Linked DNA regions of Homo sapiens: regions 2, 3, 4 and 5 are each linked to region 1. Evidence: promoter capture Hi-C in 16 types of primary human blood cells and fetal thymus (Javierre and others, 2016). All regions are on one chromosome and are shown on one strand. The core of a region is centred on a gene start or on the middle of the fragment in contact, and the rest is flanking DNA. Distances in the headings are between cores, read along the strand shown. Region 1 holds the start of HMGA2-AS2 (HMGA2 antisense RNA 2). Region 2 overlaps TBC1D30 (TBC1 domain family member 30). Region 3 overlaps LINC02389 (long intergenic non-protein coding RNA 2389). Region 4 has its middle 5.0 kb from the start of TBC1D30. Region 5 overlaps LINC02389 (long intergenic non-protein coding RNA 2389).

Evidence for each region. Contacts are between HindIII fragments. The CHiCAGO score rates a contact against its expected background, and 5 or more counts as called.
Region 2: a contact is called between a fragment that was not itself captured here and the fragment with the promoter of HMGA2-AS2 in region 1, in 8 of 17 cell types (total CD4 T cells, non-activated CD4 T cells, naive CD8 T cells and 5 more). The highest score is 11.3, in total CD4 T cells.
Region 3: a contact is called between a fragment that was not itself captured here and the fragment with the promoter of HMGA2-AS2 in region 1, in 7 of 17 cell types (activated CD4 T cells, total CD4 T cells, total B cells and 4 more). The highest score is 14.3, in activated CD4 T cells.
Region 4: a fragment that was not itself captured here is called in contact with the fragment with the promoter of HMGA2-AS2 in region 1 in 1 of 17 cell types (naive CD8 T cells); the score reaches 5.7 in naive CD8 T cells.
Region 5: a contact is called between a fragment that was not itself captured here and the fragment with the promoter of HMGA2-AS2 in region 1, in 2 of 17 cell types (non-activated CD4 T cells and total CD4 T cells). The highest score is 5.4, in non-activated CD4 T cells.

Annotation. Positions count from the first base shown.
Region 1 is chr12:65,947,144-65,952,954 of GRCh38, forward strand. It overlaps HMGA2-AS2 (HMGA2 antisense RNA 2), which reads right to left and starts at 1,564. Exons shown (of 4, transcript NR_199060.1): 1 at 1,292-1,564; 2 at 621-981. HMGA2 (high mobility group AT-hook 2) reads left to right here. Exons shown (of 5, transcript NM_003483.6): 4 at 4,240-4,272. The HindIII fragment of the contact is 7,270 bases long and covers 1,312-5,811 here.
Region 2 is chr12:64,878,121-64,884,080 of GRCh38, forward strand. TBC1D30 (TBC1 domain family member 30) reads left to right here. Exons shown (of 12, transcript NM_015279.2): 12 at 1-2,913. LINC02389 (long intergenic non-protein coding RNA 2389) reads left to right here and starts at 5,654. Exons shown (of 3, transcript NR_033988.1): 1 at 5,654-5,745. The HindIII fragment of the contact is 2,171 bases long and covers 1,807-3,977 here.
Region 3 is chr12:64,896,079-64,901,910 of GRCh38, forward strand. LINC02389 (long intergenic non-protein coding RNA 2389) reads left to right here. Exons shown (of 3, transcript NR_033988.1): 2 at 4,499-4,620. Among named protein-coding and RNA genes, the nearest start is that of LINC02389, 15 kb to the left of the region's middle. The HindIII fragment of the contact is 7,998 bases long and covers 1-5,832 here.
Region 4 is chr12:64,816,780-64,822,519 of GRCh38, forward strand. It overlaps a transcript of TBC1D30 not described here. Among named protein-coding and RNA genes, the nearest start is that of TBC1D30, 5.0 kb to the right of the region's middle. The HindIII fragment of the contact is 418 bases long and covers 3,842-4,259 here.
Region 5 is chr12:64,918,373-64,924,070 of GRCh38, forward strand. All of the region lies in intron 2 of LINC02389 (long intergenic non-protein coding RNA 2389), which reads left to right. It overlaps LINC02231 (long intergenic non-protein coding RNA 2231), which reads right to left. Exons shown (of 4, transcript NR_146276.1): 4 at 2,473-2,698. It also overlaps the pseudogene LOC124903125. Among named protein-coding and RNA genes, the nearest start is that of LINC02389, 37 kb to the left of the region's middle. The HindIII fragment of the contact is 720 bases long and covers 996-1,715 here.

The DNA.
Region 1 (5,811 bases), core at 314-2,813:
GAGTCTTGCTCCGTCACCCAGGCGGGAGTGCAATGGTGTGATCATAGCTTACTGCAGCCATAACCTCCTAGGCTCAAGCAATCCTCCCACCTCAGTCTCCCGAGTAGCTGGGAGTACAGGCATGCGCCACTATACCTGGCTAATTATTTTTAATAGAGATGAAGTCTTGCTAGGTTGCCCAAGCTGGTCTCGAACTCGTGAGCTCAAACAATCCTCTCAAAGTGCTGAGATTACCGGCATGAGCCACCACACCCGGCCACAGTTTCGTTTTAACATCTGTTAATCCAAAAAATTTCTTCAAAGTCCTTTGGTGATTTTGTCAATGCTGCTATTGATGTTTTGTTCTGGGAGGAAGCTCTCTTTCACCCCATTGTATTTTAGAAGTTTCAATGCAACCATGGAATGAGGATTTTCATTACAAGCTTTTTGAAAGGTGCAATAGTCTCAACATAATGAACTCAAAATCTCAGTGCATTGAAGGGTTTGCATGCCAAGTTGACCAAGTGCCTAAACTGTATAAACTCCCTATGTGCACACTTAGAATTGGATCATCAGATTTGTCTAAACAACTTGAAAGGCTTTGCTATCTGTTCACTGAACAGTCATTATGATGTACACACCTTTAAGAGGGACTCAGCCCCTCCACAACTGATAATGAAGGAAGAATCTCCAAGTGAGGTGAGGCAGCTGGACTTTGCAGGTCTGACTCTTGTCCCCTGCGATTCACTTTTCATCAGCAACCTGGAGGAATCAGAACTAGGCCCTGCTGAACAATCTGGAGATGAAAATCAAAGCCGGGAAGTACAGCTTCTCCTGGATTGGATCTCGATTTGACTTTTTTCTTTTTTCTTTTTTTCAAGGAACAGACTGGGTTTCTTCAGAGCATTATATCAGGGATTAAGAGAATCAGTAGACTCGGGTTGTTTTGGTTTTAGAAAAAGATCTCAGACGATTATTTAAATTCCCTATGCCTTGGTTTCCCTGTGAGAAAATGAAAACAGTAAGGCCTGGACCCTCCCAGTAACAAAGGGGCAGATGTTAAAAATATAAAGGATTCTAGCTTTCATATAGGAAATGCATGTGCAAAATATTACTCATTTATTAAGGTGCATGAAAATTTACTGTTAACAACACAGAAGACTAATATGTATCATTGATGTTATTCAGGTCTTATAAAACTCTAGTGGCCAGTCGTGTTTTTAATGCCAAGAACCCCGAGGAGCAACTGGTTTCTAAGAATCAACACTTAGTTCTGAGCCGAGAGATGCCCCAAGGAAGATAAGAGACTTACAGTTTGTTTGGCGTCCAAAAAGCTTTCCAGACAGCAGTTTGTTTCCTTTCCCTTTTTATGAATGGTGGTAGTATTATGCTTCAGTCTGCGTTTTCTACCAAAGCCATTCATAAAAATAAAAACAAAACAAAATAACAACAACAAAAACTTTCTCGGCACAGTCTGGAGCCATTGGGTGCCAGAGGCTGGGAAAACATCCTGGCAGCCATAACCCCAACCAACATTGAAAGTATTCAAGGGTCTGTTTGTTTGGTGGTCTGAAAAGTATGAAGTGCTGTGTCTGAGGGTAGCTGGTAGAAGTTCCGTGACACGGACTAGGCCGGGAGCCAGGGCTGGCAGAGATTCAGACATTGTCTTTCCCCTCATTGAAGTGTCAGGACCTAATTCATGGAAAATTGGGTGAGCTGGCAGCTCTTTCAGAGGATTTCATTGAGCTGCAGTGTGCAGGAGTCACATGAATGCGGGAGCCTCTGCCAAAAAAGGAGGGGGATTTCTGAGCAGTAGGAACCAGTCAGCCTGCAAGAATGTATGTGGATTTGAAACGGTTTGGGAGTAAACATGTGTACAGGTGTAATCAACAGGGAAAAATGGGAGGAAGATGAGTGCTCTCTTCTTCCAAATGACCCTTTGGAAATGAATCCTCTATTAGCCCACGCTTTTGTGTCCTAAGAGGCAAGAAGTCCTCATCGTTCTTGGTTCGATTTTCCCTGGAGAAAACATCATCTCAAAACTTGGGCTTTTGTGATGACGTCATCTTTACTGTGATTTAAAGTCAAATGGAAGAACGTCTTTTCCTTTGAGCAAAAGTACCTTGCCATTTATTTTATTTTTATTCTGTCCATCTAAAAAAAAAAAGCTCTAATGATTTTTATATGGAATTTTTAATGTACCAGCAATAAACCACTGTACCACTGAGAGGAACTCTGAGAGGAAGGGGCTCTCAGAATGAATGAACAGGGGCTAGTGAATAGTGAACGTATCCTAAGTGCTGTTATTTGGGAGAACTGGTGCAAGAAAGCATGTCGCTATCCACATCAGAGTACCTCAGGTGTACTCACAAATCTCAGCGATGTGTAGATAGAATAATACATGCCTATATTCAGACATGAGAGTGAGGACTGGAAGCAAATAATCCATCGAAAAGCTCAGGCTTCAAATCCATCTTTTATAATGCCAAAGAAATAAGAAGTATTCTCTAATACTCGATTGGAAAGTTAGGCAGGCAGAAAAACATTCCCTCGGATGTTTCACTCAAAAGAGGAGAGTTTTGCTCTACACATACAATAGATACAGATATAACACAATATAACACAATATTCTTCCCATGATACCACGAAGAAACTGAACAAACTCACAGAATTATTTGCAAATCATAAGGGACTTGAATGCAAAACATTAAAAGAACTCTTACAACTTTGTTATGAAGAGATAGCAAATTTTTTTTAAATGGGCAAAGGATTTAAATAAACATTTCTTCCCAGGAGACATATAAATGGCCAATAAGCACATGAAAAGATGCTCAACATCATTAGTTGTGAGAGAAGTTCAAATTGAAACAGCAATGATGTTTAACTTCACATCCACTTGGATGTCTACAAGCAAAAAGACAGGCAATAACAAGCATTGGCATGTATACGGAGCAATTGGAACTCCAGATTCATTGCTGGTGGGACGGACTGCAAAATGGTACAGCTGCTTTAGAAAGCTGTCTGGCAGCTCCTCAAAAAGTGAAACAAAGAATTACAATATGAACCAGCGATTCCACTCCCAGGTACATACCCAAGAATGAAAACATGTTCGCACGAAAACGTGTATATAAATGTTCATAGTAGCATTATTCATAATAGCCAAAGGGTGGAAACACCCCAGATGTCCACCAACTAATGAATGGATAGGTAAAATGTGGTATACCCATACAAGGGAAAATTATTTAGCATGAAAAGGAATGAACTGCTGATGCTACCACATGGATGACCCTAGAAAACCCTAGGCCAGTGAAAGAAGCCACACACAAAAGACTCTACATATATAGTATGATTCCACTTACATGAAATGTCAGGATAGGTAAATTCATAGAGACAGAAAGTAGATTCATGGTCACTTAGGCATGGGAGGTGGCTAGGGACGTGGAGGGTAGTGGGGAGTAACCACTAATGGGTACAAGATTTCTTTTAGAGGAGATGAAAGTGTTCTAAATTAGACTGTGGTGATGGTTGCACAACCCTCTGAATATACTAAAATATACTTTAAATGAGTGAATTATGTGGTATGTAAATTATGTCTCAGTGAAGGTGTTTTAAAAAAATAAAATATTAACAAATTAGGTACCTTCACTCCTCAGTTTTGTGATATATAGGCTAAAAACAAAGTGAATCAAACAGTTAAGTTTCTTTCAAGCTAGTTGGCTTGTATGCCAGAATTTAATTGGGAATTGGAATTGTTTTCACTGAGATAACCTATGTTGTATTTCCTTAATATAGAGAGATCATGAATAGACATTTTTGTTTTTTTTGAGATAGGGTGTTGCTCTGTCACCCAGGCTGGAGTGCAGTGGCATGATCACGGCTCACTGCAGCCTTGACCTTTCTTGGCCCAGGTGATCCTTCCATTTAGGCCTCTGAGTAGCTGGGACTACAGTTGCAACGCCACCACACCCTGTTAATTTTTGTATGTTTGTAGAGAGAGGGTTTCACCATGTTGCCCAGCCTGGTCTACAACTCCTGGGCTCAAGCCATCCGTCCGCCTCTGCCTCCCAAAGCGCTGGGATTATAAGCGTGAGCCACCATGCCTGGCCAAGTATAAACACTTTTAACATTGGATATACCAGTTGAACTTTATACTTTCCTCTTTCCTTTGCAGACAAGTATCTGTATTTAAAATATGTACACCTAATTTTTTCTATAATGTATATTTTCTTTTAAAATATATCTTTTTCTTTTCCTCCTTAGCCACAACAAGTTGTTCAGAAGAAGCCTGCTCAGGTAAGACATAGTCATTAATTTTTTTCTCCCAATTAATATAAAAAGTGAAATATGTACTGAAAAATGTCCCCAAACTAAACCTTATTTCGCATTTTCTTACTTTTGGTTATCGTCCTGCAGTATTCCTGAAAATGTGTTGTAGCCTTCAAAGTTAGGAATATATAGTCTGCAATCGTACCATGAAAACCTCCCAAAATGTAAGGTCTTAAGTGTACAAAGCAAATATAAATTCTTTTAAAAATAAAACTATTTTATTACATTGCCTCATATGTAAAACAAATATTTAATCTTATCCTATATTTTACCAATTCTTAAACATCAAATTTTGTCCTTCCAACTGACTGTCTATATTCTGTTGACACCAGACTTATATTTAATGATTCATGACTGGAAACATATTTCTTCATTGAACAATTTCATAATATTTGATGATCCCAAAACACTCCAAAGAATGCTAGAATACTTGGAAATTAAGTTATACTAACGTGCAGACTGATGCATTCTTAGATCTTATTTAAATAACTGAATCACAGTCTCTGAAGTTTTTGGCAACATCAAATTGGAAAATAGCTCTACGTCTCTTGCCCCATATTCCTGGAGCACCTTGTCCTCACTATAATCTGTACATAGAAACATTAAAAAAACATATTTATTGAGGAAGCATATCTTGAAGAAAACAAAACTGAAGTATAAATTAACCAGGATTGCTAATAATGTGAGCCAGTATTAAAGTATAAGAACGTCCTGCTGTTCTCTTCCCTTCTGTATGTAAATAGTCATTGGAGATCCAGGTGGTATCATGCTGAACCTGCTAAAATAAGTAGTAAGCAGTGTCATGAGCTATCAAATTAAGTAGAACTCTTTCATGTAATTTTAAGTATCCATGAAATTTTTTTCCCTAGAAGTCTTTACAAATCTACCTTGCATCCTGTTTTCTTAGGTCAATGTTGCCTTGCCTGGGAAGGACCACCCGGGCAATCTTATATATCTACTGTTCTCTAAAAATGCCACTTAGAAGAGAATTGAAACTTCCAAACACATGAAAGGATCCAAGGAAAGTGTCTTCAAACAATTACATATGAGCTTTAAGTGGAATAAAAACAGAGTTACCATGAAAAAAATCATTTTCATTGCTGCTCCCATACCTAAAAGCTAAGAGTGGGAGAGGGGTGCTAAAAAAAACCCAGTGTTTGTGCGTCTTTAAGCAATATTTAAAAATATATACATATAAACAAAAACTTGACATTTTCATTAGGAGAACCCAAATATATTTAGCCTCTCATCCTTTAACTGTACAAAAATCAAGAGAAAGTAAATTGATAATTCTGTGCATTTGAGTCAAAGGATGAGGCAGAGTTCACATTTGCATCACAGGCTGTGAACTATAGATTAATCACTTTATGTGGTTTGTTAATATTGATTCAGCCCTTGTGCTTAGTGTCATAGGGAAGATGAGTCAAACAAAGAAAAACAGTCACTGCATCTGAGAAATGTATTTATATGTATATGCCTGTGTCCTATCCAGTGGTATGCTGGAAC
Region 2 (5,960 bases), core at 1,642-4,141, 1.1 Mb before region 1:
ATAATAGTCCTCTGAGGTAAAAATGGCCTTGTCAGAATTTTGAAAATCCAACAGATTCCTATTAAAGCACTCTGTGTACCAATAACATGCATGCATTGTACCAAGTAATCACAATGTGAATTGGTCAATTTATGAGCCTTGCCTACTTTAGAAAATAAAGAAACCTGCAGTAGCCTCTACCACACAGCATGTACAAAGACCAGTATGGACTTGCTATCTTCCCTATGTATTGGACACTGTATGCAAACACCAGAAGTACTTAACAAGTAGTGGTTTCTTGATTTTTAGATATGTCTGTAGCCTCTTAGCCCTTTTGCCGGGAATCAACTCATTCTGATGCCTCTGCACCTCAGTTCCTCTTACAAAAGCCTCCAGATGATCTAAATCTAGTTAGCAATGTCAGCCTGTGGACTGCAGCTGTTTGGGACATTGTATTCCTTTGTTTGTCTCTTGTTGTTCTGAAGGATTGTATTGATCACAAAGCTATATGCATAAAGATTCTCATTGTTGTAACTGTTCTGCCATTTTCTGAGTGCAAGCATGGAACACTGTTGTGACAGTCCCTTCTCCCTTCTTCCTTCTTCCTTCACCCCCAACCCCAGACCCCCCTTGGTCACATGAACCAGGGAAACAGCCCAATAAGCTCTATCTCCCCCAGTCTAATCGCTGGGTTGCAGGGTGGCCTGTGACCTGCCCAGCATTTGCAGACTCGCTGGTTCCTGAATATGAGTAAGCACAGAGTTTACCTAGAGAGTTTACCTAAAATTAACCTTTAGATCTACTATTTATTTTTGTCTTAATAAAATGAACAATAAATATAGTTTAGCTGCATGGCATTAAGGATTCTGTATGAATAGATGTATAGTTGCTGCCATCTCCCCATATAAAAACTCTCTTTACATCGTTTCTGAGCCACTTTCTTTGCTGTCTGCAGCATTTAAAATATATTATTTTTCCTAATTAGAAAAGTCACAGGTTTTAGAAAATTGGGAAAACAAAAAGAGCATAAAGAATCATCAATACTCTGATATAGATATAGATCTTTCCAGTACGTTTGTGTATGTGTGTACACGCCATTATCTACAAAAAAGTTATGTTGAACATGGTAGTTTAAGCTGTCTTTCTGGTAAATGCTCTTATACAATATGATTTTTAGTGACTAATATTCCCTAATGTGTTCATGCCAGAATTCACATAACCAGTACCTTGTCAAATAGGAGGTTTCTGATTAGATAGTAGTAGAGACAGTATCCTGTTACATGTATGTACATAGCCCGAATTATTTTCTTAGGATATGCGTATAGAAGTGGAGTTGAAGGGTCAGGAAATATGTCCATTTTTAAGATACATATATCTCCAAATTGCCATTCTTAAAGGTTGGAGTTATACAAGTAGTGAATGAGAATGCCTGCTTCTCTACATCCTGGAAGAGGCAGCAGTCTCTTTCCTTTTTTTTCCTTTCTATGACTTCTAGTGTGGAAGTGCCAACAGAAGTGTTTTAGAAGCAGTGATAATGAACACTCATAACACCCATACCTCATTCCTGACTTTTAAAAGAAGCATTAAGTAAGATGTTGAGGTTTCTGGTAGGTGCCTATTATTAGGTTAAGAAAATTCCCTTTTATTCTTTGCTTGCTAAGAGTTTTCTTCATCAACAGGTATTGAATTTCATAAAAAGAACTTTAATTGTATCTTTTGAGAAGGGAATAGTACTTGAGACTTGGTATCCTGAACTCAAAGAAATAGCCATTACTAGGTTTTGTCAAAGAATACCAGATATTTTAGAGTTGGAAGTTATGCAGTAAAAGCTTTATGTGCAAATGTTCATTGAAGTATTAAATGTACTAATGGAAACCTGAAAACAATATAAACATCTGGGAATAGGGGAGATGTTTGGATGAATTATGATTCATCCCCAGGATGGAAATGTGAAGGCCGGTGAGTATTTGGACCATTGAAGTGGGAGTTATCTGTTATCCACATCAGGCAGCTCAGAGTAAAGTCAGCAAGTCTACAGTCATAGAGCCACCAGGATACAGTGATGGATGGGAGGCCTTTGCTGGACAGTGGCTGAAGGCAGAACTGTTGGAGTGGTTCTTCCACAAAGGCAGCCAGTGCTCACCTGAATGGGGACTGGTACTGTAGGTATTGGGTCAGCTTTCATGCCGTTCCCTGCTGGCCATCTCCCAATGCTGAATGTCTGACTCAGTTCAGGCTGCTGTAACAAAGTACCATAGACTGAGGTGGCTTAAACACAGACATTTCTTTCTCACAGTTCTGGAGGCTGAGAAGTCAAAGATCAACGTGTCTGCAAATTTGGTATCTGGTGAGGAAGGGCCCTCTTCCTGGTTTGCAGATGGCTACCTTCTCACTGTGTCCTCACACAATGGAGAAAGGGAGTATGTTTTGGTCTCTTCCTCTTCTGATAAGGGCACTAACCTCATCATGAGGGTCCCATCCTCCTGGTGTCATCTAAACCTAATTACCTCCCAATGGCCCCGCCTTCAAATACCATCACGTTGAAGGTTGCTTCCTTCCTGGTCGTTTGCTCTGGTGAGACCAAATGACCTGCAAAGTGTCACTTGATTCCATTCTCTCCATCCCTTCCATCCCAGGCAATCTTTATCTAGCTACACCAACCTGTGCCCCAGGGGCTTCAAGAGTTGTTGTTGTTTTAACATTAAAAAACCAGAAAGTTCACTTGTTTCTTAGTGTTTACATCCTTGCTATAACAATTCTAGTTTTCCTTTAGGCAATGCTGATCACTGGGAAGGAGGTGGATCAATTCTCCTATGGGACCAACAGTTTTCTGGGAAGAAACTTCCTGATACCTCAGCCTAGGAATCTCCCTATCCCTGGAGAGTCCAGGAATCTATATTAAAACATGAAACAAAGCAAAAAATAAAAAAAAACCTCCTTAGTAATTGTTTTCTTTTTGAGACAGGGTCTCACTCTGTTGTCGAGGCTGGGGTGCAGTGGCACAATCTTGGCTCACTGCAGCCTCCGCCTCCCATGTTCAAGTGATTCTCCTGCCTCAGTCTCCCAAGTAGCTGGGACTACCAAGTGTGCACCACTATTCCCGGCTAATTTTTCTATTTTTAGTAGAGATGGGGTTTCATCATGTCCACCAGGCTGGTCTTGAACTCCTGGCCTCAAGCAATCCGCCCACCTTGGCCTCCCAAAGTGCTAGGATTACAGATGTGAGCCACTGTGCCTGGCCTTCCTTAGTAATTTGAACGTTGAACTAAGTTTAGCAACCACTGAACAAGTTAACTATAGCCATATATCACCTGATGACGGGGGTAACGATGGGGAAATTGTTAGGTAATTTCAACATTGTGCGAATATCACGGAGTGTGCTCACACAAACCTAGATGGTATAGCCTACTACACACCTGGGCTATATGGTGTAGCCTATTGCTCCTAGGCTACAAACCTGTATAGCAAGTTACTGTGCCGAACACTGCAGTCAGTTGTAACACAATGGTAATTGTGTATCTAAACATATTAGAAAAGGTACAGTAAAAATACAGTATTACAATCACACAGGACCACCATAGCACATGAGGTCCATCGTTGACTGAAACGTGGTGTGGCACATGACTGTATTGTAATGGTCTCCTAACTGGTCTCACTGCCATCCATTTTGGACCCTCCCCCTGCCCACCCCACCTCTCTGCTGCTTGGCTATACACTGCTGCCAGAATGATCTTTCTAAAATGAAAAACTAATTGGGCCATCCCTCTGGTCAAAATCTTTCTTCAATTTCTGGAGGGTAAAAGCTAAAATCCTTATCTTAGCATGATTTGACCCATGGTTAATTTTCCGTCTTATTTTCCCACAGCTTCCCCATTCATTACCTCGTGCAACCTATCCTCACCAGCACCATAATATCAACCATTGGTGGAGCTCCTTGAGCTCAGCACTATACTAGCTCCTTTGTGCTATCTCACTTATTCCTCCCAAGAGCTCTGTGAAGCTTACTGGCACTGTATTACAGATGATGAAGGTGAAGTGAGCAGTTACATCCTTGGCCAGTTGGAAGGAGGTGGATGAATTCCCCTATGTGATCAACAGTTTTCTGGGAGGAAACTTCCTGATACCTCAACCTAGGAATCTCTCTATCCCTGGAGAGTCCAGAAATCTATATTAAAATGTGAAACAAAGCAAAAAAACAAACAAACCTCCCTTAGTAATTTTTTTTTGTTTTTGAGACAGGGTCTTGCTCTGTCGCCCAGGCTGGAGTGCAGTAGCGCAATCTCAGCTCACTGCAACCTGCTCACTGCAACCTATTTAGCTGGCAAATAACATCTGGATCTATCTGACACCAGAGCCTGAGCTTTTCCTTTGCTACACTGTCTTATAACTTTGCCCATAACTCCAAGTTCCCTGAAGGCCCCCCACTCCGCTAATGCCCTCATACTGCTGTGTATTCATAAATCCTTGCTTCGAGCACCCTCCTTGCTTCAGTCTGCCTGGCAGATACCTACCTATCCTTTTGGTCTCATCGCACACATTAATGAGGTAAAATCCAATCTATGCCACTATATGATTTGGGGCAAGTTACTTAACATCTGAGACCTTCAATTTCCACATCTGTACAATGAGAATAATTTCAATCTCATAGGGTTTGTTGTGGACAATTGCCGTCTTTGCTGCCCAGAATTTACTATGCTTTGGCAACATTGCCTTAATTTTGCTTGGGGAGCCAGCCCTCCTCCACCTCTGCCCATGTACTTCCGGTGACAGTGATGGCCCTGGAGGGAGCACAGGGCCTGAGCTCAGACACTCAGCACTCTTCCTCCTCCTCACCATGGTGTCTGACCCATGGATGAGCCACAGGAAAAGAAGCTCAATTCCTAGGCTCTTGTTTTGAACTCTCACGTAAGCAGACTCACTCATTTCTACTGGATTTGGTCCTAAGTTGCTAAAGTTTGGGGAAAATTGGGTTACATATAGCTTATGTGATTAACTCCATAAATGAATATGCAACAGAATTTAACCTGGAAGGAAAAAGCCCAGGAGTTGTTGCTGGCAGCTCTCTTGTAACCATGAGGGGAGAGCTTGTTGGAGAAGAGTTAACACTCAGCAAGCAGAGCTGAGAAACAGAGAGAAAGCAGGCTGCTTTCAGGGCCTGTGAGCTCTGGATCAGGCCACGCCCAAAGCCAATTTGTCTCAGCTTATTTACTATATCAGCTAACATTCCAATTTTGGGGTTTAGCCAGTTTGGTCAGATTTTCTACCACTCATGTTGAAAAACTCTTAACTGAAACAGAGGTGTTGTGAAGATTACAGATTATAAGGGCAAAATGGTGGCTGTATCAGTGAACAGTAGTCAGGATTATTTTTTACTTTCCAGTGACTCAAACCTCTCCTAAACTGCTCTCTCAGTTTTGGCTCCGTCTTCCCATGATAATAATAGGTGGTGTAGAGAGGTGACAGAGTCAAGGAACATGGTTCTTGTTTTCTGAAGATGGTTCTTTCCTCAAGCCCTTTGAGTCTTCTTTGGTCTTATATTCTCATCACAGAAGGAGAGGTGATTGTCTTTCCCCAGTTTTGTCTACCATTCCGGTTCCATCTGCATTCCCGGAGGAGTCCTGTTGAGGGCAGAGTGACTGTGAGCAAAACAAGAAGAGCTGTGTCACCAAGTTCCATAAAATCTGGGAGCCCAAGCAGCATATTTGTGGGATTTGTCTGACAGAACGCAATGGAAACAGAGCGTGGCATTCGCTCCATCTCCCCCAGGTGAGCGGCAGCTTTCTCACGGGGGGTCGGGGGCGGGGGGGGGGGGGGGCTCTAGGGCATCTCTAATGGCGTCTGCGGGGAAGCAGCAGGGCTGGGTGAGAAAGTGGGTCTCACGGGACCTGCAGTGTTCAGCAGAGCCGTGGGAGTGCCTGCTGGGAGCATACTTGTTTGGGAACACATGAGAGGCACCCCCTGAAGATTTCAAGAAAACCGGA
Region 3 (5,832 bases), core at 1,779-4,278, 1.0 Mb before region 1:
TCAGCTTTTTCATCTCAGTTGATGATAACTAAGCGTAGCAGTTTATTAGGTCAGAAAAGTGACAAGAGACTTGCAGAGACTTGTGTGGAGTTTGAGTTTTCTCTGAATAAGTTAAGAAGACAGAGTGTTTTGAGCAAGAAGTGGAATTATCTGGCATATTTTAAAGGGCTCATTCTGGTTGTTTTGCAGAGAGTAGACAGTGGAGGCACAAAGATATATCAGGAGAGACCAGTTAGGAGGCTGCTGCGACGACCCAGGTGTGAGATCATGATGACTTGGATCAGGGTAGTAGTAGTGGTAAGAAGTGGTCAGATTCTGGATGTGTTTTCAAGGTAGAGTTAATAGGATTTCTTGGCAGGATGCAGGATGTGAAAGAAAGAGAAGTCAGGGATTATTCCAAGACTTTTAGTTTGAGCAACTGGAAGAGTGGTGTTACCTTCAGCTGAGATGGGGAAGATTGCATAGGGAGTTTGGGATGTCCACTAGATATTGAAGCAAAATGTTTGAATGGGAATTTGAACATTTTAGTCCATTTGAAGTTCAAGAGAGAGGTCTGGACTGGATATGTAAAACTGGGAATCATTGGCATATAGATAGTATTTAAAACCTCAGACTGGAAGAGATCACTAAGGTCTAAGACACTTATAGTAAAGAGAATTTCCTATAGACCTAGAGCATTTGTTCTCAACCAGAGGTGCTTCCCTGGGGATATTTGACAATGTCTAGAAACATTTTTGGTTGTGGGGAGTGGTTGCTACTGGTACCTAGTGGACAGAGAGCAGGGATGCTACTATATATATATCTATCCTATAATGCCTAGCACAGCCCCCAACAACAAAGAATTATCTGGCCAAAAAGTCAGTAGTGTCAAAGTTGAGAAACCCTTGTGTAGATGGAGAAGACCAAGGACAGAGCCTGGGACACTGCAATATTTAAGAGGTAGAGAGGAAGAGGAGGAACCAGCAAAGGAGACAGAAGAGTAATCAGGCAAATACGAGGAAACTAAAAGTTGTGGATCCTGGAAGGCAAGTGAAGAAAGTTTATCAACAAGGAGGTGTGTCAAATGCTGCTGATTAGGGGCATGGCATCAGGTGCCTGTAGTCCCAGCTACTGGGGAGGCTGAGGCAGGAGGATCACTTGAGCCCCAGAGTTCAAGGCCAACCTGGGCACCATAGTGAGATGATGTCTCCAGAAAAAAAAATGCTGCTAAGTCAAATTGGTTGATAACTGAGAATTATTCATTGTATTTATCATCATGCGTGTCATTTATGACCTTGAGAAAAACAGTTTCAGTGTATGTGTTGGGTGGACTTAAGACAGAATGGAAGGAAAGGGAGATTGCAGACAACTAGTACTTAAAAGTTTTGGGAGAGGTTTTTTTGCAAAGGAAAACAAAGAAATGGGGCAATGGCTGGTAAGTATCAGAGAATTGGGCGTGAGTTTAGAGTGCTGACTGTCAGACCACATCAAGGGCCTTAGAACCAAGGACAAGGCAGATCCAGGTTGAAATGATTCTGGACACAGGTCTAGAATGAGAAAAAGGTCTAGAAATTAATTATTTTTGTTGGGTGATGGCTTCATGAGTCAGAGGCAGGTCTGATGGCTGGGGCCAACTGGACCAGACAGTTCTAAGACACACTATTCTTTATATTCTATCCTTTTCAGTCCAAATAAAGGACTGGAGCTGGCATATGAATTCTTCACAATAACTCAGTACAAGATTCCTTGCTGTCTCTGACTTCTAGGGGTAGGCTTATTTTTATTTTATGTGGCTCCAAGGGTGCAGGTAAGTTTCAGGGCCCTCTCTGTCTGGACTATTGCATCAGTCACTTACCTGACTCCAGCTTGCTGCCTTTCACTCCCTTCTTTATTTCCAGAGTGATCTTTCTAAATGCAAATCTGAGTCTATCATTCCCTGTCTAAAAACTGTGTATGGCTTCCCATCCTAATCAAGATAAAATTCAGGCTCCCTTGTGTGGCATACAATGTTATCTCAGACTTAGTTTTCCCCATGTTTTCCAGGCTTGTGTCCAGCTTCTCTGTGCCTTGCAGCAGATATTGGACTTCTCCACATCCATGGTTCCATGTACTTACCGTGCAGAGTCACACCTCCAAACCTGTGCTTAACTCGTTTACTCTTCTATAACACCCTATCTACTTTTCTGTGCTTGGTTAACTCCTGCTCATTGTTCAAGACTAATTTCCTTTAGGAAGCTGTATACATTAGAATTCAATTTGGTTACAAGTGACAAAAAGTAACAGTGGCTCTGTTGCTGCCCTGGAGTAAACATGAGAAAGAAAAGGATATTCTGGGGTCCATGGAGAGGAACATCAGATGCTTCCACAGTCTGTTCTTGGAACCACTATTATTCAACTGGGACTGGCAAATCCCAGTTGAATCTTAGATTTCAAGACTATGATGTTGCTGCCTGGTATGTGCCTTCAGCTCTAGGGAGTTAAAGTCATGTATTTTGCTTTGTTTTGTCTCATATTTTGCCCGAGACTTGTTTTAGATTAACTTGTCACTTCATTAATTCATTCAATGACTGATTCACATGTGGGTTTGCTGTAACTTACTATATAAAAAGTCTGTTTCTTCTGGTTTAATCATCAGGGTTTCTGGAGGTGTGGAATAGCAGACTAATTATCGCTCTGTAACCTCTCATGTTTTTGAGGTGAATTACCTATAGTATGAATTCTTTGCTCATTTATCCTATTATTTGTTTAAAAAGAACTATTGGCCCTTGTCACTTACCAGACACAGTGCTTGGTGCTCAGGATGCAGAATGAGAGACATTCCTTGTCCTGAAGGAGCTGCAGTCTAGTGTCAGGGTAGACAAGGAAAGCAAGAGTAGAGTGTAATAAGTTCTTAGGTCAAGGTATACCTGAAGTGTTATAAGAGTCCAGAAGAGGGGCATGTGATTGAGACTTGGAGTCAGGGAAAAACCTCAAGAGAAAGTAGTGCCTGGAGGTTGCAGTGAGCAGAGATCATGCCACTGCACTCCAGCCTGGGAGACAGAGTGAGACTCCATGTCAAAATAACCAACTAACTAACTAACTAGCTAACTAACTAACTAAATAAAGTAATGCCTGAACTGAGTGATGAGAGACCTAGGAGTCAACAGGAAGCTAACATGGGCTGAACCAGCTTGATAAAATAAAACTCTCCACAGTTTCATCAACCCTAACCCACACCATTTCAAATAAATATTCAAAGTAAAAAAAAAGTGCTTGGTAGGCAACTTTATCACAAGTTCCCTAATCTCCGTCAACCCACCCCAGTGTTACCCCAAATAAATATATAATACAAGTTCCTCAGTTTCAACTAGATCCCCACCTGGATTCCTATCCCTCCTCTAGAGACTTCTGGAATGTCACTGCCCTATTTTCTTCACCCCACTCCATCCCTCAGACTCACCCCTGTCCCTGATACCTACAAATCAGCATCATCCTTGGGCTCATCTAAAGAAAGTAATGAGAGGTGGATGGAGTTAAAGGACAAGGCAAAGTTCAGGGGCGAGATGAGGCTTTAGGATGAAAAAGGACCAGGAATTGGGTGGGGATAACTGCTGCACATATCCTGTAGTATTGTGTGGCATTAAGAGTCTGCCTTATACCTTAGAAGAACTCTTTCTCCATCTCTGGTGGTAGGGTATAGGATAAAGTGGAGAGAGTCTTACTAGTTAAAGTGGAGAGAGTCTTACTAGTGCATCTTGCCAAGGGCTTTTTTTAAAAAACAGGTTCTAGCTCCGTCAACCCGGGCTGGAGTGCAGTGATGTGATCATAGCTCACTGCAATCTTGAACTCCTGGGCTCAAACAATCCTCCTGCTTCAGCCTCTCAAGTTGCTGGGACTACAGGCACATGCCACCATGCCTGGCTAATATTTTGATTTTTGTAGAGATGAGGTCTCACTGTGTTGCCCAGGCTGGTCTCAAACTCCTGAGCTCAAACAATCCTCTTGCCTCGGCCTCCCAAAATGTTGGGATTACAGGTGTGAGCCACTGCACTAGGCCCATTTTAACCATTTTTAAGTGCACAGTCCTCTGATGTTGAGTCATTTGCATTGTTGTGCTTTCCTGATACTTCTTGAGCTCTTTCTATCTGTAGACTTTGGTCCTCCCTTAATTCAAGATAATTCTCTTCTAGCATATCTTGATTTTTTTTTGGCCACTTTCATTATATGTGTCAGTGTGTGTGTGTGTTTTAACCAACATATCACATTCTGAGGAGAGTGCAGCAATGTGGGTTCTAGTGGTTTCTTCTTATTCTCCTGGGCCGCTTCAGAATTTAAGTGTTTGGTTTAATAAGGTTAAGGAGCTGTTTTTTTGTTTGTTTGTTTGTTTGTTTGTTTGTTTTTCTGGAGAGAGGTCAGCAAAATGCTCTGTGGATAAACCAAGAACTTAGTATGCAAAGGGCTTTTGGTAGCCTGTGCACACAACCCGAGCACACATGGTATGAGTGAGTGTCCACACACAAGCATGCCCTTGCTTTCCTAGGTCACCTGTGGAGAAAGAAACATCATCTCTCAACAGAGGATTGTTCCTCCGTTTGATGATACGTGCATCCTGCCATCTGGAATTCAATTGACTGTTCTGTCTTGGAGCCAAGAATCTAGAAAGTGAGTGGGAACATCAGATGTGAGTCAATATTTCACAATGTCACCAAAGAGAACATATCAACACTCAGTTGACAGGCAGCAGCCCCGTGCAGATGATGACAAAGGCTGGATACATGTCAGGGTGTGAGTGTGGAAGAGGGCAGGGGCTGGGGACTTTTATAAGAATGTTTCCGTGCCTAGCTCAGTGCTGGCCACATGTTTAGTTAAGCAGGACATTTCCTTACTGGGAGTCTGGTTGGAATTGATTTTCTATTAACTATTTATTTTGATCTTCTATTTTCTCCATTTTAATAGGTTGTTAGCAAAATCAGCTTAATGCTGGTCATATACATTGATTAACTGTTTCATTGATCATACAAACACAACCATTAAATGCTTGTGTGTTACAGAGAAAATTATTGTAACTATATTCATACTAGACAGATAGACAAACAATATGCTGGGAAGGAAGTTTTTTTTTCTTCTTTTTAATAAGAAGTAAATTTGATACTCAAGAGGTAGGGTGGTGGACTTAGAATGACCATCCCTACTTTGCTCATCCTTCAAGGTCTGACTGAAATATGACCTCTCTCCAAAGCCTTGCACAGTCTTCCCAGGCCCCGTCATGGTTCCTTCTGCGGCTTGTGTGTGTTCTCATAGCACTGCATATAGCTGCGTATTTACCCGAGGCAGGAAAGTGACCCTTATTTATCTTTTGCATGTAGTAGAAGCCCAGTACATTCTGACTAGTTTTTTTTTGTTTGTTTGTTGTTGTTGTTTGAGACAGGGTCTAGCTCATTGCAACCTGGAACTCCTGGCTCAAGAAATCCACCTACCTCAGTCTCCCTAAGGGCTGGGATTATAGGTGTGAGCCACCATGTTTGGCCCTTGATTCGGTTTTAATTTCAATTTTCAAAAAGTAAAAGGAAGGTTTATTGTTTTTGCTAATTTTACAAGTAACCAGGCTCACTGGATTAGGATCAGACAATAAAGTAGAACGTGCAGTCACCTTCAGCCTATCACTTAGAGACAACCATTATGAATATTTTGGGATATTTATCTCCAGATCTCTCTCTCTCATATGTGTATATATATTTATTTATATTCATAAACTTAGAGGTAGAGATTTTTCTTTTTTTTTCTTTCTTTTTTTTTTTTTTTTTTTGAGACGGAGTCTCGCTCTTTCACCAGGGTGGAGTGCAGCGGCATGATCTCTGCTCACTGCAACCTCTG
Region 4 (5,740 bases), core at 2,801-5,300, 1.1 Mb before region 1:
CTTTCCCTCCCTCCCTCCCTTCCTCCCTCCCTTCCTGCCTTTCTTCTTTCTTGCTTTTCTTCCTTCTATCAGGGTGTTGCTCTGTCACCCAGGCTGGAGTACAGTAGTGTGATCAGGGCACAATGCAGCCTTGAAATCCTAGGCTCTCAAGTGATCCTCCTGCCTCAGTCCACCAAGTAGCTGGGACTACAGGTGTGAGCCACCATGCCCAACAGAGCATTCTGAAATTTTGCTGACATCTGCCTCACCACAGCTCCCACTTAGCAGTTCTAACTTAGTCCTTTGGAGCAAACACAAAACTAATTTCACAGTTTCTACCAAGTGAGTGAGGGCACTAGAGGAGTATGCGGCGAAGACCTCAGTGGGGTATCCTGGCCAGTCAGACTCACCCTGTGGGTCAGAGTCTGGGTCCTGTGCTGGATAGACCTCTGGGATGACTGCTCACAGCGCCATTTTAGCCTCTAGTGCAGCAACAACAAGCACTAATCAAAGGACAGTATTGAGCGCCTGCTTTATGCCATGACTTTCATTATGTCATTTAATTCTCACCGTAACTCAAATATCATTATTCTAAAGATGAGGAAACTGAAACCCAGACATTAAGTAACTTGCTCAAGGACATAGAGGAAGCAAGTACTGGCATCAGAATTCTAACCTTTGTCTGCTGCGTTGCCTCCTGGAGGGTCTCACCAGGGGTGATGACCTGACCTGTGTCTCTTCACACGTCTCCTCATTGGAGCACACGTTCTACATTGTTTCTTCTGAATGAACTCAACCTGGAGAGCGAAGGCTTCCAGACCTGCCAAACCAACATTATTGTTGATTCCAATCTCTCTCCTTTTCCGGTACTTCCCTCTTGTCATCACCAAAATCAAGCATATTACATTCGAACTCATCACCCTTCTCCTGTCTAGGGACACATTTCTAAGTTAAATCTACCTCAATAGATATGAGAAACCTCTCCTTTCATACCTCTCCTCAACAGGGTCAAAAGAATCTTTGGGCCTGGCACATGGCTCATGCCTGTAATCCCAGCACTTTGGGAGGCCAAGGCAGGCGCGTCATTTGAGGTCAAGAGTTCGAGACCAGCCTGGCTAACATGGTGAAACCCCATGTCTACTAAAAATACAAAAATTAGCCGGGCATGGTGGCATGCACCTGTAATCCCAGCTACTCAAGAGGGTGAGGCACAGAAATCACTTGAACCCAGGAAGTGGAGGTTGCAGTGAGCCGACATCCCTCCACTGTACTCCAGCCTGGGCAACAGAGTGAGACTCTACCAAAAAAAAAAAAAAAAAATCTTAGAATGGCTTGGTGTAAGGTTGGGGAATCTCAGCTAAATGGTTCATCATGACCAGGTTAAACAGTTATTTCATCTTCTGCAGTGATGAGTGTGAGTCTTCCAGTTCTATTCCTGATGTGGAACTAAAGAGCTGAATAGCACAACTGTAAGAAGAGCATACATGAGCTTTGTCCTTGGCCTGTTTTCAGGTGAAATTTAGTAGCTCAATGAAATGGAGCTCTGGGAAAACATTGCAACATATATAATACTTAAGATGTAGCAAGAATGGTATCTCTCCAATTATTCACATAGTATTTTAAAGGACCTTTCACACAATCCTTGTGTCCTTGTCACTACTCACTCAGTAAACTGTAAACTATTTTTTTTTTTTTAGACAGTCTCGTGCTGTTGCCAGGCTGGAATGCTGGAATGCAGTGGCGCAATCCTGGCTCACTCAACCTCTGCCTCCCTGGTTCAAGTGATTCTCCTGCCTCAGCCTCACAAGTAGCTGGGATTACACGCACGTGCCACCACGCCCAGCTAGTATTTGTGTTTTTAGTAGAGACGGGGTTTCACCATGTTGGCCAGGATGGTCTTGATCTCCTGACCTCGTGATCTGCCCGCCTCAGCCTCCCAAAGTGCTGGGATTACAGGCGTGAGCCACTGCACCTGGCCAACTGTAAACTCTTTGAGGGTAGCGTATGTACTGTGTTCATAATTTTCTCTCTCATAGTTCTTAGTACCGTGCCTTTCCCACAGCATCTGATTAATGATTTTTTTCATGAATAAGTGAATGAATAAAAGAAATATAAAGGTGTCTTTATATGGTCAATATCAATCTAGCTCAAGTAGTAGTGAGTCAGTTTCGGTCATTTTGAAGCAAGAAAATACTTAACAGGAAATACCACGACAAGAAGAATACGATGAGATCTAAAATCTTTGGTTAGTTATGCATCTAAGGTTACATGGATCTGGCAGCAGAGTTTTAAGTACATTTCTGTATGACATTCTGAGTGTGATTTGGTGTTGGAATTTTAAAGCCTCTCTGTTCCATGCTTGATAGAGTCCTTTCTCAAAAATTAACAAAATACAAAAGCTACACCTGATTGTCTTAAAGGATGCCTGTATTTAAATAGAGAAGTTATTTTTATGACTAAGAAAAGAAAATCATATAAATAGAAAATGTCCCATGTAGGTAATGTGATCTGTCAAATAATTGTAGTTTTTTTCTTCCCCCTCAATTTCCTCCTGCTGCCCTGCCCCTTCATCTCTGTCATGAGGGGGAAACTGTTACAATGCTCATAGTCTGTGGACTCTGTCTTGGATAATGAATTGAAGGAACTACTTTTTTTTTTTTTTTTTTTTTTTTTTTGAAATGGAGTCTCGCTCTGTCACCCAGGCTGCCAGTGCAGTGGCATGATCTCGGCTCACTGCAAGCTCCGCCTCCCAGGTTCAAGCGATTCTCCTGCCTCAGCCTCCCAAGTAGCTGGGATTACAGGTGTGCGCCACCACACCCAGCTAATTTTTGTATTTTTAGTAGAGATGGGGTTTCACCATGTTGGCCAGGCTGGTCAGTCTCCCGAAGTGCTGAGATTATAGGCATGAGCCACTGCACTCGGCCTTGAAGGAACTACTTGTTAAGTCCCTACTTTAGTAGGTCTGAGGAAAGTGTTAACTTCTTGTAGAAAAGGCCACAGATCTTGTCTGGTTAGCAGACGCCACTTCACTATTCAGGAGCTGTTTACACATGTTCAAAAATTGTGGGATGAGGAGAGAGGAGGAAGAGTGGCTTTTATGCCACCAGACCTCCATTCTTTTTATTATCACAGGTGCAAAATGTCCCCATCTCCTGCCGAATGGGAGACAGCACTAGATCTGGTGGTCTGATGAGATCTCTGATGCTCAGCTTGTGTGCATATCAGCACCTGCCAGGGAACTCCGCAGCTGTACAGATGAGTTCCAGGCCCACTTCCCCAGAGCAGGCTGGCTCCCTGTGGTCTCTCTCTCCTCATAGCAGGCTTCCAGGGCCTTTTCTCTTGGTAATTGTCAGTCCCTGAAGATAAGCACGTAGGCCCTTTTTATTTTAAGACTTTACTGTTAAACAAAAAAAATAGCAGCATTAGGAAATCACAGGTCTCAGACCCACTTCCCCTTCTGGAAGCCCCTTGGGACATAGTTTTTATTCCTTGTGTTGGGCTTTCTTTTCTTACTGACTTCTTCCCCCTTCTCCCATTAAAGGAAAAGTTCGCTCTCAAGGAAACCTCATTCCCAGCATGTAGGCCTGAAGATGCAGGGTATGCCGAATGGTCCATACTTTTTTTTGTTTCAGCCTGGGAGCTCACATCTGTGGGGGATGTCCTCAGGTTATTAGCTCTGTGACATTCGGGGCATTTCCTCAAAGCCTTCATTTTCTTTAGCAATCCAAATAACATTATCTCATCCAATGTGAAGTGTTCATTAAGCCTTCCTTCCCCTAAATTCAGCATAAGTCATAACCATTGTAGACTGTGGCAGTGTATAATTTGCCCAAATGTGAATTCACTATTATTTGATTGGTAAAGCTTGATTAGTAAAGAATAATGGTAAATTGGCCTGGCTCCTGAGATTCTCAGGCAAAGTCCATGCTGGCTTGAGTTCTCTGTAAGTTGACTTTAGATGACATCTTTCACGTTTGTAAAACAATATTCCAGACATGAAATAAAAAACTGTGAGTCACACAATCAACATAATACTAGGCTTGGGCCATCGCTGCTTTTAGAGTATTGTGTTTTAGTGCTCATGTAATTATCTGTTTGCTATAAAAGTTGGCAGTCCTGACTTTCCTCTCCAATGTAAACAAAATAATATTATCTAATTCCTTTGCTGTTTATTGCCATCATAGCAGAAACTCTTAAATTTTATTTTAAAAACAGAGTTAGATTTTCCTCGTAATAGATCTAAAAGAGGTGAAATTGAATGTTCCTTTTGCAAGCAAACAAGCTTCTGTCACTACTAGTAAAGAAAAGTATTACAAGTAAAGAAGAATCTAAAGAGAGGTCTTTTTATCAGTCATGACACATGGGTGAGTTGACAGCCTAGAGTCTAGATGTCAGCTTTGGCAGTCTGGAAATTTGGTGTCTTCAGGTTACTGACTGGTAAGTGAACTCAGGGGTATTGACTGCTATTAACTGGTCAGTATATTCTCTGTGCTGCAGCAGAGTCTATATGGGAAATCAAATGACAATCCAAAGTTTGCTTGGTGAGCATGACGTCAGAGCCAAAGGGAGTTGGATGGTCTGAGTGGCATATGTCACAGCCCCAGGGGCAGGACGTCCTCCTCTCCACTCCAGAGACAGTGTTGTAGAACAGAGCTGATTGCTTGTCCTCTTGGCTTGCCTAGTGATGGAAACCGAGCATGAATAGCCTCTCTTGTTAAAATAGAACACAAAACCCTCTAAGATTTGAGCATATGAGAGGTCTGGAAGACGAGACTGTGCATGCAGTTACCAACTTGTCCTGCTGGATTTTCCCTCTCCTGCCAGTTCCCTCTCTTTGACTTCGGGTGTTCATCACCATCTTCAGCCCCAGGGTATACTGTGCCCTCTAAAAAACTGGTCAAAGGGAAGCATCAGACCTCTTCCTATGGCTCTCAGTACAACTGAGATAGGCTGCAACAGCCAATGAGTGTCTTATTAAAATTAATACAAAGCTGAAGGATACAAACATGTACCAAAACTGTAAAAAGTTGATGGTTGATGGAGGATAAATTTCTGTACCGGAGCTCGCAGCAAAAGGTTGGGAAATTTAAGCCAAGCAATTAGTCATGACCAGCTTAAACAGTGACTTCATTTTCTAAAGTGATGCCTTTTCAAAGAGTACTGCCCTTTTGAAAGCATCTTTACCTCTGCCAGGCAGCTACAACTGAATAGCTTGCATGTCCTTTATTAGCCTGCTTTACTTTTGCAGATGGCTCATCTCATTTTTAATAGATTCTTTTACAGCTCATTCTTAGGGTTGCACCATTTCTGACATTGTCCTCAAATTCTGGGAAGCGTCATAGGAATGCCTTCTTTTTCTGGCTTGTTTAGGCTATCTTTATGAAGGCATTTAAAAATATTCAATATTTTTTCAATCAATAGCAGCCATTTTTTTTTCTTTTGATACAGGGTCTTGCTCTCTCACCCAGGCTGGAGTGCAGTGGCCAATCATAGCTCACTGTAACCTTGAATTCCTGGGTTCAAGTGATCCTCCTGCCTCAGCCTCTCAAGTAGCTAGGACTACAGGCATACACTACCACACCTGGCTAAGTTATTTTATTTTTGCAGAAACAGGGTCTTGCTATTTTGCCCAGACTAGTCTTGAACTACTGGCCTCAAGTGATTGTCCCACCTTGGCCTCCCAAAGCACTGGGATTACAGACCTGAGCCACAGCACCTGACCCAGCAATTAATTGCTTTTTGTTTTTGTTTTTACTTCTGA
Region 5 (5,698 bases), core at 106-2,605, 1.0 Mb before region 1:
TTTATTGCCTGGAAAACAAGCAGGTGAACATATTAGCTCCTTCTTAAGGCACCTCTAGACTACAGGAAATTTATGTTCAGGCCAGGAATCATATAACATGACTACATGCTCCACATTTATGGGCAAGTTAAGCAACAGGGAATTTTATACTGGGATTTATGACGCAAACTTGTAGCAGGCACATTGTGAGGTGGGAGGGAAATTTAAAGAAGGAAAAACTCTGCCAATAAGAGAGATTCAAATTCTTCAATTGATGGAAAAAACATGTGAGGATTTTATTCTGGAAGTTGCCTGTGAATTCACACAAGAGACAGGAAAACATAAATATTACAGCCGATCACTCCTCTTTCCCACATATATTAGTTTTCTTTCAGATGAAGTCATTTCTGTTTTCTGGTCAATCAGTGTACAGACCAGAATTATCTAAGAACATTTAACTAGATGCTTTAGCAACATTTATCCCCATTAATTCCAGGATAGAGGGAAGAAGAAAAGAGAAGCATGTGTTGAGTTGAGAGGGCAAGGCTTCTACATTCCCTAAAAAACTGACCTACACCTTGTGTATCCATCCTTATAGCCCATAAAAGCCAGCACAGAGGAGAGCACCAGCTGGAATCATTCAGTGAAGGCAATGGCTTTCAAAGACAGAGCTAGCGGCAGGTGGAATATAGATTAGGAGTCCTTTTATACTTCAAATAGTACTTGTTTTCAGTGTGAAGCAATGTGGTTCTCATATAGTCAATAAAGAGCAAATTCAGGGTATTTGCCCTTTGGCTAGTGAGGCTGATGACTTGTGGTAACTCCAGCATCACACCATCACCCGGGGAGTGCAGAGAACATTGGACTAAAATGCTGGAGGGTCTGGGTCCTGGCTTGGCAGAGCTGATTCTTCAGACTCATGCTGAGATCCATGGGCACACAGCGTAATGGCCAGGACAATTCTGAATGATTCTTGGGCTGCTGGTACAGTGGGTGCTTGGAAAATGGTTTCTCCAAGCTTGATTGGCTTTTCTCTGATCCTTATCATTTGGTCAGTGTCTTAGTCTGTTCAGGCTGCTATAACAACGTATCATAAACTGGGTGGTTTATAAACTTGTTTCCCACAGTTCTGGAGGCTGGGGAGTGGAAGATCAAGGTGCTGGCAGATTCATTGTCTAGTGAGGACTTACTTTCTGGTTCATACAAGGTAGTTTTTGCTGTGTGCTCACACGGTGGAAGGGGTGAGGGGTCTCTCTGGGGCGTCTTTTATAAGGGCATGAGTCACAGTCACCTCCCCAAATCCTCACCTCCTAATTACTGTCGACTTGGGGGTCAGGGTTTCAATATGTGAATTTTGAGGGGGCACATTCAGACCAGAGGAGTCAGCTATACTACATTGGGTGGACAGGCTATGTGTGATCCAGGGGAGTTTGAGTAAATGATCTCAGTTAGGAGTTACAGTTACTTGCCTAGAAGTTATAGTTATTCCCATTCTAAATGTAGATAGGTTTGGTGGGGGGAACGATAAAAGAGAAGGGTCTTGGGATTCTAGGAATGACCAACAAGAGTCCACTGCTGGGAAAGATCGGATCATATGCTCCCTGAGGGGAGGCTTTGCTGATTTTGTTCTTCACTCTTCTCCCAGTGGCACATAGTAGGAGCTTAATAAATATATCATGTTGCCCAAGACTAACAGGAATGGTGGGAAGTGACACCACTAGTTGTGACAATAGCAAAGCTTTAACGTTCTCCAAAGAGACTAGCTTACGGGTTTAGGAATATGCAAAATGGCCCCAATATTAATTTCTACTTTTCTTCCGCACATGCACTATGGGCTGGAATGGGCCAGGGGTTTGCTTGTTTAAGATTACTTGACACATTATTGCTGAGGAATACAAATTCAGAGCCCGGGCTTTGTTTCATACTCCTTGTTAAATACAAAATAAGGAGTCGGATCCTAACTGAAGAGGAAACGCATGTCATAGAGCAGTGGTTATCAGAAATGATCGTGTGTCAGTCTGAGTGTGAAACACAGATGGCTAGGCCCCAACCCCAGAGTTTCTGACCCAGTGGGTTTGGGGTAGGGCTGAGAAGGTGCAGTTCTAATAAGTTCCCAGGTGATGCTGATACAGCTCCTTTAAGACCAAACTTTGAGAGCCAATGGAAAAGAGGAAAACGCACTCATATTGGAATGAGACGAAGCTGGACTCCTATCTTAATTGCTATGTGATTTTGGTCAGGTCAACTTTGCTTAGCTTCAGCTTTCTCATCTGCAAAATGGTGATGATATCTACCTCATGAGGCTATTGTGCGGGTTAAATGAAGTAAAGTGAGTAACGGTGGCTGGTCCATGGTAGTCACTCACTCCAGTGATGTAAGATCTTCTTCCCTTACTCCTTTTGTGGGATACTCATACAATGCAAGGCTTGTTTAAGGATTAACATCTGTGTGAACTGAGCTTCTGCTGTATTAATTTCACATTGCCACTTATATATGTCCTGAGGTTTTTGCTTTTATTGAACATTTACTATGTGAATGGCATTGTGTGAAATAACTTTTACATTTTATATAACATTAGATATTATTCCTTTTTAACAGATGAGGATAGTAACTTGCATATGAGCCTACAGCTAGTAAGTGGCAGAGCTGAGTATTCAAACCAAGGTCCACTCCACACCAACACTCTTGACTTCTTTGTTATAATGGTTCCCATGATTCTCTGTGAACAGAAAATGTCAGATTATTATGTTGTTTTCTTTCCTTTTTTTTTTCTCTGAGATGGAGTTTCACTTTGTTGCCCAGGCTGGAGGGCAGTGGCGTGATCTCAGCTCACCACAACCCCTGCCACCTGGGTTTAAACAATTCTAGTGCCTCAGCCTCCCAAGTAGCTAGGATTACAGGTGCCCACCACCTCACCTGGCTATTGTATTTTTAGTAGAGCCGGGTTTCACCATGTTGCCCAGTCTGGTCTCGAACTCCTGACCTTAGGTGATCCACCCACCTTGGCCTCCCAAAGTGCTGGGATTATAGGTGTGAGCCATGGTGCCTGGCCTCATGTCCCTTTCTGTAATTAGTCACTCACATTGAGGAAACTAAGCAATTATCCTGAGAATGTGAACGAAAAGGTATGGGGATTTGTATGTATCTTTAAGTCAAGGACTCTGTTTTACTCATCTCACCATGCTATCTTGTGTGGAGAGGAGCTCTATATTTGTGAAATTAACAAATGAATGAAAAGCTCATATCAAATGACATCCTCACCTGCCTTAATAAGAGAAGAAAGAAAGATCCCTTGGAAGAGATCCAAGTGGGCTCCTGAAAGTCAAAGAGAGAAAAAGAAGGCAGCCAAAAAAAACAAAAAAACAAAAAAACAAAAGGCCTTTAACCTTGATCCTATGACTTTATAGGTTCCCTCTTTCCCATGATTCTTTCCTTAGGGTGGGCTTGCCTGGGCAGTGCTTTCCCTACCCTTTGCAATTGAGCACGAACAGCCTGTTTTGGGAGTTACACGCATGCCCATCTGAGGCTTTTTCAAGTGGCCTCTGCCCCTGGAACGTCATCCTTCGCCATTTTGTCTCTTAACACGCATGCCCAAGAAGCTGCTTCTCCCTGGGGTCTGCATTCAGTTAACACTTTTAGTGTTAACAGGTGTGGACCATCAAGAGCTTGTCTCTCCCTGGCTGCCGAATTATCATTTTTAGAGAGGCAATGTGATGATTGCCAAACCATCATCCTGCATTTCTAGTGGGTAGGGGGAAGAGCCCTCTCCTGCCTGCTCATGCCTAACTACCTGTAACAGATTCACACTCATGGTTTGATTTACTAGAATACTTTGGAAAAGCAAACCAGGAACCCCTTCTATATTAGGACCCTTTGTGAATACTCGCAGGCAAAGGCACATCAGGACCCATTTTGAACACTCGCAGGCAAAGTTACTTTCGGATGACCTTGAGCCCTTCCATACTTGAATCTCGTGCCCCCAGGGAAGTAGTCCTTAACCTCTTTTTTTTCAGTCAGTTGCTTACCCCATGATCCCTTACTTCTTCCATAAGAAAGGCCTAGCATTTCTTTTCTTTCAGAAAATAAAATTTCTCTGAGCAAGGAAGGCCACAGGGCTGGCCCGTCAGGGATGGAAGGGTGAAAACAGAAGGCTTATGTCAGGGCTCTGATTTGGCAATCATCTGGAAGATACATGTCAAATTGCCCACTCCTGCTCACTGGCATTCCTGAGGCAGAGTGACTGCCCCATGGGATTGGCTGAGAATAGCAATAAGGGTGTAGTACAGGCAGGTGGGTTACGAATGCTGACAAGGTGGTGGCTTTATGCTGTTTTTCTTATGTGCCCTGTAGGGCTCTGCTTCCTACCTTGGAGCAGACTCACTCTCAATATTTTTGTCCACACAGGTGTTCCAAGGACAAATTTTAGTTATGCCACAAGTATCTGAGAAAATAATGGAAAAAATTTTTCCAAAACCCAGCTATTTCCAATAAGTAACATTTAGTCAATAAGTACCAGTTAATTGTACCAGTTAATTACTCCACATGTCTGCTCTGAATGGTGGCACCTGTTAACTTATCTGTTGTTAAATATTATGGCTATAATATTTAATATTCAATAAAAATACATAACATAATATATCAAATATATGTTATATTTAATATATTGTTATATTATTAAATATAATATGTTAAATTTAATATATTGTTATATTATTCAATATAATATGTTTAATTTAATATATTATTACCATAATATATTATGGTAATAGAAGTTATTAAAGCAATTTTATTTCTATACCTTGCAAGATCAGTGGGCCAGTGACATGGCATGATTTCCTCATATTGTGCCTGCATTGTATTGCCTGTTTGATACTGGGCAGGCAAGAATGGGTTGGATGGTGGTTACTCTTGAGTAACTGGACTCAGAAGAATGTCTGATGGTGGGACATACGACACAAAATTTGCACAAAAGGAAAAACTGTTTAAGCTCAGATTCCAATCAGAACATGACTCTCCTTCCTTGCATTCTTCTCCCATTTTTCTCTCCCACCTCCAGGTCACAGCAGCAATGCAAAGAAGGCAGACACAGAATACTCAGCTTATAGAGAAAATCCATTGCCTGGGTAACACATAAGGCAGGCAGCCAGTATTTCAGGGGATATTGGAGAAAAATTATTTTCTATTGAAATTGGTTGGTAAAGATGATTCTTAAATTGCACTTTGATTGATTGCATTGCACATGAAGAGATTAAGAATACTTTAAAATAATTGAAAGAACCTTGATTCAAAGACATACCCATCTCAGCACAGGCTGGCACAGGAGAAGCACACTGTGTGGCATAGTATGAGATCATCAGAAGCTGGAGGAAGAGGAACTCAGGCCACATCTGCCTCAAACTCTAGTTTCATCTTGCTAAGCTGCTTATCTGACCATAACAACAATGCTAGCTCCATGCACTGTGGCACTGAGTACAGCAGAGATGAAATATTGAACATGGTATTCAGACTAACTGGAGTAAGCAGAGTGACATCCTTTTCTCTTTTTAATAGAAGTGAATGCAAAATGGGAATGAGAACCATTGTCATGTAAATAAAAAGTAAATACGTTTATTTCTCAAAAGCAAGACACATTTCCCTGAGAATACAAGAGAAGAAAATGGCATATCCAAATGTGTACTTTCATACTTAACTATTCACATATATAAGGCAATTAATTGCT